2 separate regions of the Homo sapiens genome follow, and region 1 is linked to region 2. The links are contacts of gene promoters, found by promoter capture Hi-C in blood cells and fetal thymus (Javierre and others, 2016). All regions are on one chromosome and are shown on one strand. Each heading gives the region's core, a stretch centred on a gene start or on the middle of the fragment in contact. The rest is flanking DNA. Distances are from core to core; before and after follow the strand shown.

The links. The method cuts DNA at HindIII sites, captures the fragments that hold promoters and counts their contacts. A CHiCAGO score of 5 or more calls a contact.
Region 1: a contact is called between a fragment that was not itself captured here and the fragment with the promoter of LINC01565 in region 2, in 2 of 17 cell types (erythroblasts and endothelial precursors). The highest score is 6.3, in erythroblasts.

What each region holds. Positions count from the first base shown.
Region 1 is chr3:128,200,710-128,205,326 of GRCh38, reverse strand. The region is part of intron 1 of EEFSEC (eukaryotic elongation factor, selenocysteine-tRNA specific); the gene reads right to left. Among named protein-coding and RNA genes, the nearest start is that of EEFSEC, 50 kb to the right of the region's middle. The HindIII fragment of the contact is 2,019 bases long and covers 1,490-3,508 here.
Region 2 is chr3:128,574,208-128,579,093 of GRCh38, reverse strand. LINC01565 (long intergenic non-protein coding RNA 1565) reads left to right here and starts at 3,008. Exons shown (of 3, transcript NR_125802.1): 1 at 3,008-3,279; 2 at 3,708-3,828; 3 at 4,791-4,886. The HindIII fragment of the contact is 3,021 bases long and covers 2,487-4,886 here.

The DNA of each region.
Region 1 (4,617 bases), core at 1,250-3,749, 370 kb after region 2:
CTGTGTTTGTCTCCTCAGTAGACTGGGCAGGGGTCTTCCCAGATACATCTGAGTCCCTGAGCTCCACACAGGGCCTACATGGCCCAGAGGAGGGGTCCAATAATGTTCAGGTGACCAGATGAGTGAGCATACAAATGAACCAATCAATAAATGATTAAACAAGGGGATAACTGAATGAAGGAAGGGTGCCTATCCTCACTTTAATTAATTTTAACTAGTTCCTTCAACTAGTTAAAATTCCTTCAACTTTTTGAGCACCAACCTTATATCAAGTCACACAGAATTAGTAAACAGTGAATCAAATCTGCCTTATAACCTACAACTTCACAACTTCAGTTTGAACAACTCTTCTAGGGAAGCCCGTCACGCAGCAGACAAAAGTACCTAATGGGGAAGTGTAACAATTGGGCTCCTTTCTTTTGTATTATCATCCAGGTAAATAAGTCTTTTATAATTCAGTTTTGAACCATTCTGTCACTTGATCAGGCAAAAATGGCTGGGTGGGTCTCAGTGAAGCACCAACTTGGGAGGGTCTCACTGAGCTCGGGAGGGTCTCACTGACGCACAGACTGCTCAGCACACTTACCATGCCCTGGGGAAGGCGGCATCCCAGGAGGGAACCAACACACATCCTGCTGCTGTCCAGGCACTGTGCAACCTGGCTTTGAACGTGGAGATGCTCCCAGGAAAGGAGTGGCTGGGAGCATCGTATTTGTTAATAAGAGATATTGATTCTTAAGAGCAACCCTAGGGAGGCCAGCTGAACACAGAGTAGTTAGACACTGTGACAAACAGCAAAACTCTGAAAGAACCCTACCTCAGACACAAGGAGAGAGAGGGAAATACCTAATCTTACGGCAAGCTAAAACAAGCAAGGAAATTCTGCCAAAAATTAAGAAATAAATGTCATAATTAAAGCAATACAAATATCAGTAACCATAGCAATAATAACAGTTAATATTTATTGAGAGTTGACTATGCAACAGGCTTTGTGTTAAGTACTTTACATACTAATTCATTAATCCTTACAATGACTGTCATAAGTACATACAATATTATTATCCTTATTTTACAGATAAGAAGCTGAGGTAAAAAGTGGGTAAGTCACCAGCTTAAGATCCCAAAACAAGCAAGTGATGGAGCCAGGATTCAAGTAGTATGGTGCTAGAATCTGTGCTCTTAATAGTTTTATTCCGTGACACTGTCCAGAATCTTCTATATTCCTTCCTTACAAAAGTTAACCACTGTTTACAAAGGACTTGTTCCTTGGGAATACATCACTTAATCTTAGAATATGCAAGTCACTGAGAAAATAGGACTCACTTCACAGAGCTGCTTTGCAGCCCACTTAGAGAACTATCTAATACAATACTCCTATAAATAACTCTAGTGTTTCATTTACATTTGGTAACCATGTTTCCTGTTAAGAATTCCTGGGATTATTGATTTATTCCAAAACCAGGTTTCCTATCTAATGGAATGCCAAGCTTGATATTCAACTGGCCAAGTATAACAGTGGCTCAATTATTAAATCAATAAGATAGGTGGTATCAATTAATGGATTATCCTGGAAACTTCTGTTACAACTTTATCCTCAAAGCTCACACTCACTCCAAAATGTAGATATCCTCATGTTGCATGATAAAAAAAGGTAGATACTGCCTGGGAAAAGTCCACCAGCTTTGAGGGCTAGCAGACCTGGCTCCAGCCTCGTTTCTGCCCCTACTCATGTCACCTGCAGCAGATGATTTACTTCCTACAGACCTCCATCTCCTCAGTGCTGTGGACTCACACCTAACACATGCAGGTGATCTAGCCCAGTGCCCGCACACAAGGGAGGTGGCTGACAGTGCTGGCTGACATTTGCCTTCCTTATTCCTGGACTTGTGTCCATCCCCTTCCTCTGCCATCGCCAACACTCATCATCTTCCTCTGCCCAGGTGGAAACAATGACATCACTTTAAGGAAATAGCCTATCATGATTTAAGATCATGAATTAGAACACACCTGAAGGGAAATGTGAATGGCTTGGACTTTGCCATGATATAAGCATCACTAAATGGATAAAAATCAAATCACTTCCGTCAACAAATTCCATTAGGAAGTTGCTGATGAAACAAAGACTTTGCCATTCCTGCTGTTTCACAAATTGTCTCAAATTGCCAACATTTGGGTGTAACCATTCATTTATACTATCTACAATCTGTATTCTACCAACTGATTGATCCATGGGCCAAATAATCCATTCCTGGAAAATAAAAATCTACATGAACATGTTAAAACCATGTTAAAAAATATATTGGGTGAGGCTGAGGTAATGTTTAGAGGGAAATTTATAGCTTTTTATGTTTAATATTCAAAAAAATCAATCAGTATAATTCCCCACACTAACGGAATGAAGAAGAAAAACTATAAAATCATTTCAGTGGATGCAGAAAAAGCACTTGACAAAATTTAACAACCACTCCTGATAAAACCATTCACCACACTAGGAACAGGAGGAATTTCCTCAACACAGTAAAGGATGTGTATGGAAAAACCCACAGCTAACACCATACTTACTAGAGAAATATGAAATGATTTGTCACCATGATCAGAACGAGGCAAGGATGTCCACTCTCACCACTTCTACTCAACATTTTACTGGAAGTTGTAGCCAGTGTAATAAGTTAAGAAAAAGAACATAAAGGTTAGAAAAAGGTATAAAGAGTAGAAACAAAGAAGTAAAACTATCTTTATTCTTAGCTGACATGATTTTTTATGTAGGAAATCCTAAGGAGTCTATAAAACAACCACTAGGACTAATAAGAAGGTTTAGCAAGGTTGCAAGATACAAGATGAATATACATAAACTAATTATGTTAATATATTAGCAACAAATTAAAAATATCATTTATGATAGCATCAAAATACATAAAATACTTAGAAATAAATTTAACAACATATGTACAAGACCTCTATACTAAAAACTTAAAAATACATAAGTGAAGAGATGTGCTAAGTTCATAGATTGGAAAACTCAATATTGTTAAGAGTCAGTTTTCCCTCGATTGAGCTATAGTATAGATTCAATGTAATCCCAATCATAATCCCAGGATTTATTTTTTTTGTAGAAATTGAAAAGCTGCTTCTAAAATTTATATGGAACTACAAAGGATCAAGAATATTCAAAGCAATACTGGAAAAGAACAAAGTTGGAGGACTTACACTACTTGACTTCAAAACTTACTTTATAAAGCTACTAATAAAGACAGTGCGATATTGGTGTGAAGACAGACAAACAAATCAAAGTACAATAGAGTCCAGAAATAGACCTACACTTAAATGGTTATGTGATTTTTCACAAAGGCAACAAAACAATCTAAAAAACTTTTCAAGAAATGATGCACTGGAATAAATGAATAGCCATACGGAAAAAAATCTACTTTGACCCCCATCTCACACCACATACAAAAACTAATTCAAGATAGATTACAGGACTAAATGCAAACGCTAATGTCATTAAGCTTTTTAGAAGGAAACTGAGTAGAATGTCTTCATAACTTGGTGGTAAGCAAAGTTACTTAGAACATAGAAAGCAGTAACTACAACAGAAAAAAGTGATAAATTAGACTTCATCAAAACTTTTGGTTATCAAAAGACACCATTAAGAAAACAAATAGGTAAGCCATAAATTGTCAGAAGGTATTCACGACACATATATCTGACAAAGGACTGATAAGTAGGTTAAAGAACTCCTATAACTCAACAACAAAATAATTTTTTAAAATCTAATAAAAAATAGGCAAAAGATTTGAAAGCTGCTTCACAAAAGAAGATCTACAGATAGCCAATAAACACATTAAAAAGTATTCAATGTTATTAGTCATCAGAGAAATGCAAAATAAAACCACAATTAGATACCACCACAGGATCTCTGCTATGAGATTCTTTTTTTTTTTTCTTAAGCACACCCAGAACTCTGGGTCAGAGATGCCTCACTTCCCATCTCCTATCTCTGCCCCATCCTGTATGTGTACTCATTACCTAGTACCCTGGCAGGAAAGTGAGTGTAGAGCAATTAGAGAGCATGGTGTTGCCCAAAGTATAGGACATACCCTGCCAGATTTTAGGTGACACACACTTTTTTTATTATGGTAGTTAGGTATTTATTTTAATATGCACTGAAGGAAAATGGAATTAGTATTTTAAACTCATTATTTCAAGGCTAATATTACTTAGGAGAAGGTTAAATAAATAGTCTGTTTAAAGTAAACATAATAATAATACTAATAAAGGTGGTGCATGGATAAGATGAAAATTGCAAAGGTGGGGACTGTGACCAACTCAAGTCCAGGATCACCAGCAGCACAGATCACCAGCAGTTAACTACATAATCAACAGCAAACTGTCCCATTCTAGGGCTGTGGGGAACTTTAACTTCTCTCTTCATTGAGCCCTCCACTTGACCCTACAGTGTCACATTCACACAAGTGACCACAGATGTCCTGAAAAAAAGACATCCTAATGAGACAATCTGGGTGGTGTAAAACCAGGACTCTGATTGCAAAGAACAAAGGCTTATTCCATAACAGTCTCACGATTGTTCTGCGGGAAACCTGCATCCAATTCATTTTT
Region 2 (4,886 bases), core at 1,759-4,258:
CTCCCCTTGTCTCACTAAATCCTGACACTGCAGAGGTAGCCACGGTTCATGGTTTTGGGGGAATCCTCCAGACCTTTTTCTGTGCTATATATATATATATATATCCATGTTTGTGTATATGCGTATATATGTGCCATCCTGCAGCTGTCCCCACTGAAGTCCGTGATGTCCACACACATGAACATATCTAGATCAGCCTCATTCTTTTGTGTGGCTCCAGATGGCCCCATGCTGGGTTCAGTCTTAACTTATTTAGGTATTCCTCTGTGAGTGGACACTGAGGGCATCATTTTTTTCCATGAGAATACTAGTATTTGTAGCTTCATTGTCTTATTTTCCCAAGAAAAAAGAAGCCACTGTGATTGTTCTCATCAATGACATGTAGTGCGTGGCCGCTGTGTACAGGACAGTGTGCTCTACTGAGGGGTGTGGGACAGAACGGGATGGGATTGCCCGCTCCTGAGGGCTTGGCTGAGTGGTGGGGAGAAGTATGTCAAAAGGTGAGGTCACCGCCTGAGGACTGAGTGAGGTCGCCTGGGAGGAGGGGCATGAACCCAGGTGTTTGCTGGGGTGGGCCTCATGGCAGGAGAGGCCTTCGGTGCTGGCTCTGGAACCCTGGGGAGGAGTCTGTGGAGGGAGGGGTGGTGGGGTGGAGGTGCCCTGGGTCAGGGAACAGGGTGGCCAGAGATGCCGAGACAGGAAGAATGAGCAGACCTGGTTCTTCAGGTGTGCCCAGGAAGCACCGTTCTTTCTGACAAAAGTGAAATTAAGGTGCCAGAACTCATTATCTGGCCTTTCTCCGCGTTGCGAGGCCCATCCTTGCTTCTGTGGTGTTATTTTCCCTCTCTCTCTCTCTTTTTTTAAAATAAAAATAACTATGAAGGGTTCAAGGCGCCTTTCTTTCACAACATCTCAGCTCTTAGGTCCCAGCGGTGCATCGGTGGCAAAGAATGTCCCCTGTCACCACGGCTGCTTGCCTTTATTTGAAGTGTCTGGCTGAGCTATCTCCCTGTGACATGCTTCTTTCAGAGCGAATTATTCATCCCCCCACAGCCCCCACCTCTCCCGGCCCTGGGCTCTGTTCATCCCCGCAGGTGTGAAGACAGGCCCGGCCTTTGTGTGTGAGGAGCCTGCCCCCTCCTTGGCTCCCCTCTTGGATCCCCTCCAGGCCTGTCAAGGCTTTCCTCGCTCCAGGCCCTTGCGGTGTGCGGGGCTGATGTCTCCTGTCATCCAGGGAGGGCTGCGCAGCCTCCAGCCCGCCTCTAATCTCCCCCTCCACAAAGGGCAGCCCTGTCACTCAGGGAGGCAGTGGGGGAACCTGGATCCGGGGCCACACAATGAACCATCCACCCTGCCTGAGTAGGAGGAAGCAGCCTAGCAGAGGTGGCTGTTGGGGCAGAGGGCAGGTGGGCAGGGGCCTGGGCAGAGAGGGTGAGAGCTCAGCCATCTTAAGCCACCGAAGTCAGGGAATCAAGCTTATTTTGGTGGAGTACACAAGTGGCATAGGCCAGGTGCAGTGGCTCACATCTGTAATCCCAGCACTTTGGGGGGCTGAGGCAGGAGGATGGCTTGAGGCCAGAAGTTCAAGACTAGCCTGGGCAACATGGCGAGACCCTGTCTCTGCAAAAAATAAAAAAAAAAAGCTGGATGTGGTGGCGCCCACCTATAGTCCCAGCTACTCAGGAGGCTGAGGTGGGAGGGTCACTTGAGCCCAGGAGGTGGAAGCTGCAGTGAGCTATGATTGCACCTCTGCACTCCAGCCTGGGTGACAGAGCGAGACCCTGTCTCCAGCAAACAAATAAATAAAACAAGTGGCACAGAGCAAGCTGGCCAATCCTGGTAGTGCTGGCTAATGGTTAGTGCAGAGGGGGCAGTCTCGGTGGCTGACTTGGAGCCATCCTACAAAAATGAGGGAGGTACCTATAGAAATAGGGTCAGCTTCCCCATCCTCCACCAGACTCCAGAATTCTTCCTCAGCCTCCTGCATTAGTGGTGATGAAAAACCGATGCAGGGATGCAGGGGTGGAGTGAGCAAGCCGAGACCAGCCTGGTGCCCAGGGTCAGGAGCCTGCTCTTTTGAGCCTCAGTCCCCTGTGTGTCCACAGGAAGCACAGTGCCTGCTGCCTGGGGGGGCCTGAAGACACAGGATGGGTCCCCGTTGTGGAGGTGCCCGGGCAGCACCTGCATATAGCAGGTGCTCACTGTTGGTGTTGGCATGGTGGCACAGAGCAGAGGTGGAAAGCAATGTGCCGCCTGCAGACAGGCTTTTGTGACCTACCCCGTGTCTAGAAATGTATCTTCTGAGTTACTAACAAGGAAAAATGTGGCCACACAAGGTCCACCTTACTTCAAGGCATGGCAGGCTGGGTAGAGCAGTGCTGCCCTTGGAGATGGCACAGGGTCCCCCCTGCCTGCACCCCTGGGTTCTCCTCCACCTCCTGCCACTCCCCCTTTGTACACCAGCTGGTGACACTCAGTCACAAGCTTTCGTTGGCTCCTGAGACATTTGAGGTTGAGAGCTCTGGGACCTGGAGCAGACTCGGGTTTGCATCCCACCACTTCATTCGCGACCTGTGTAGTCAACCTTGCTGAGCCTCAGCGTCCTTATCTGTAAAATGGGACTCACGATCTTCACCAAATGAAAACAAGCATACATCACCTGCCCCTGAACCTGGAAGAGAGAGCGGATTCCCAACCAAAGAGAAGACACATTGCTGAGGCTGCCTCACCATGGCTCACTGCTGACAGCATGGTGTGCACTCCACAGGGCTCAGCTTTCCCCGTGGGTGGGCAGCGTGACCCGGGCAAGCAGGCAGGGCTGCCAGGGCCTTGGCCTCGGCCCAGCACGGAGCGGGCAGGGGCTGTGGCCAAGGGTCTCTGGAGGAGGCCACGTCTCTGCAGAGGAGACCCCTCCTGAAACACCCTCCAAGCTGGAAGCTGGCCCCTCAGAGGGGAAAACAGGTGCCGTGGGCGACTCTGAGCTCCCCACTGTAAATTAATCCACCCGAGCAATTGGGAACAGAAAGTGCTTCCTGTCCCGGCCTGAGACAATGGACAATAAACCCAGCCTGCTGGGCCCCGGCCCCTGACCCCAAGGCTTCAGGAAGAGGCTCCCACACGCACACACCTGCGGTGTGTGAAGCTCGCATTGTTCTGGGCTCATGGCCGAGTAGGGCCCCTTGCTCTCAGGAGCCTCCAGCTCTTTCTGGACCTGAGCCCTGGGAGCCTTCACTCTGCCCAGATGTGCTTCCTGTGGAAGGAGACCCCCAGATGACACAGGTGAGCAAGCGTCCTTGGGTTCGGGTTCATTTGATGCGTATTCTTGAAGCCCCTACCACGCACGGGGTCTGCACACCAGCAGCACAGTACAAAGCCTTTCCAGAAAGGCTGTGGTCTCACACCTAGCACCAGACAGCACACGGGCCTGCCCTTCTCCTCCTAGCACACAGACAGGGCCATATACATCCTGCTGGGGAAGGCCCGGTGGAGGCGGCTCCTTGGAGTGAAAGGCCCTGAAATGCCAGAGGCTCCTGGGATGTGAGGTTCCTTCTGGATTTCTGAGGCTGATAACTGAATACTCTCGACTCGAATAGATGATGAGCTTGTGGAACATCGTGTGCATGTGCACGCCACCACGAAGTTAGTAATCAATCTTGCTTGCTGGGGCCATGTGTGTGTCCACATTTTGTCTTTTAATTTTTTTTGAGATGGAGTCTTGCTCTGTCACCCAGGCTGGAATGCAGTGGCATGATCTTGGCTCACTGAAACCTCTGCCTCCCGGTTCAAGCAATTCTCCTGCCTCAGCCTCCTGAGTAGCTGGGATTACAGGTATGCGCCTCCATGCCCAGCTAATTTTTGTATTTTTAGTAGAGATGGGGTTTCACCATGTTGGCCAGGCGGGTCTTGAACTACTGACCTCACGATCTGCTCACCTCAGTCTCCTAAAGTGCTGGGATTACAGGCATGAGCCACTGCGCCTGGCCTCTTGTCTTTTAATTTTATTTTGAGTTGGGGTCTCACTCTGCCACTCCGATTGGAGTGCAGTGGTGCTATCATAGCTCACTGCAGCCTCAACCTCCTGGGCTAAAGCAATCCTCCCACCTCAGCCTCCTGAGTAGCTGGGACTACAGGCATGCACTGCCATTCCTGGTTAGGTTTTAAACATTTTTGTAGAGATGGGGTCTTGCTACGTTGCCTGGGCTGGTCTGAAACTCCTGGGCTCAAGTGATCCTCCCACCTCGGCGTCCCAAATTGCTGGGATTACAGGCATGAGCCCCACACCCACCTCAATGTCTTTTAAAGTCATTAAAAGACAATTATTTTGTCTTTTTTTTTTTGAGACAGAGTCTCTCTCTGTCGCCCAGGCTGGAGTGCAGTGGCACGATCTCGGCTCACTGCAAGCTCCACCTCCCGGGTTCACGCCATTCTCCTGCCTCAGCCTCCTGAGTAGCTGGGACTACAGGCACCCGCCACCACAGCCGGCTAATTTTGTTTTTGTATTTTTAGTAGAGATGGGGTTTCACCGTGTTAGCCAGGATGTTCTCGATCTCCTGACCTCATGATCCGCCCGCCTTGGCCTCCCAAAGTGCTGGGATTACAGGCGTGATCCACTGCACCCGGCCTCATTTTGTCTTTTAATGAATAATGGACTAGCACAGCCTTAGAGAAGGAAAGAGCAGAGGTTCTATGTCCAGTCAGTGGGGAACTGGGAGATTCATTCCGAAAGGCTTTGAGGAGGAACCGGGCCCGGGTCACTCTTTGAAAGGGTGGCTCTCCCATTTTTCCTGCAGAAAATCTGAGCAGTGGGTGAGGCCGAGGGACTGCCCAGAGCCCCAGAGCACGGCAGTGGGCAAGCAGTCGTCCCTGTCCTGGGCATCCCTGTGGCC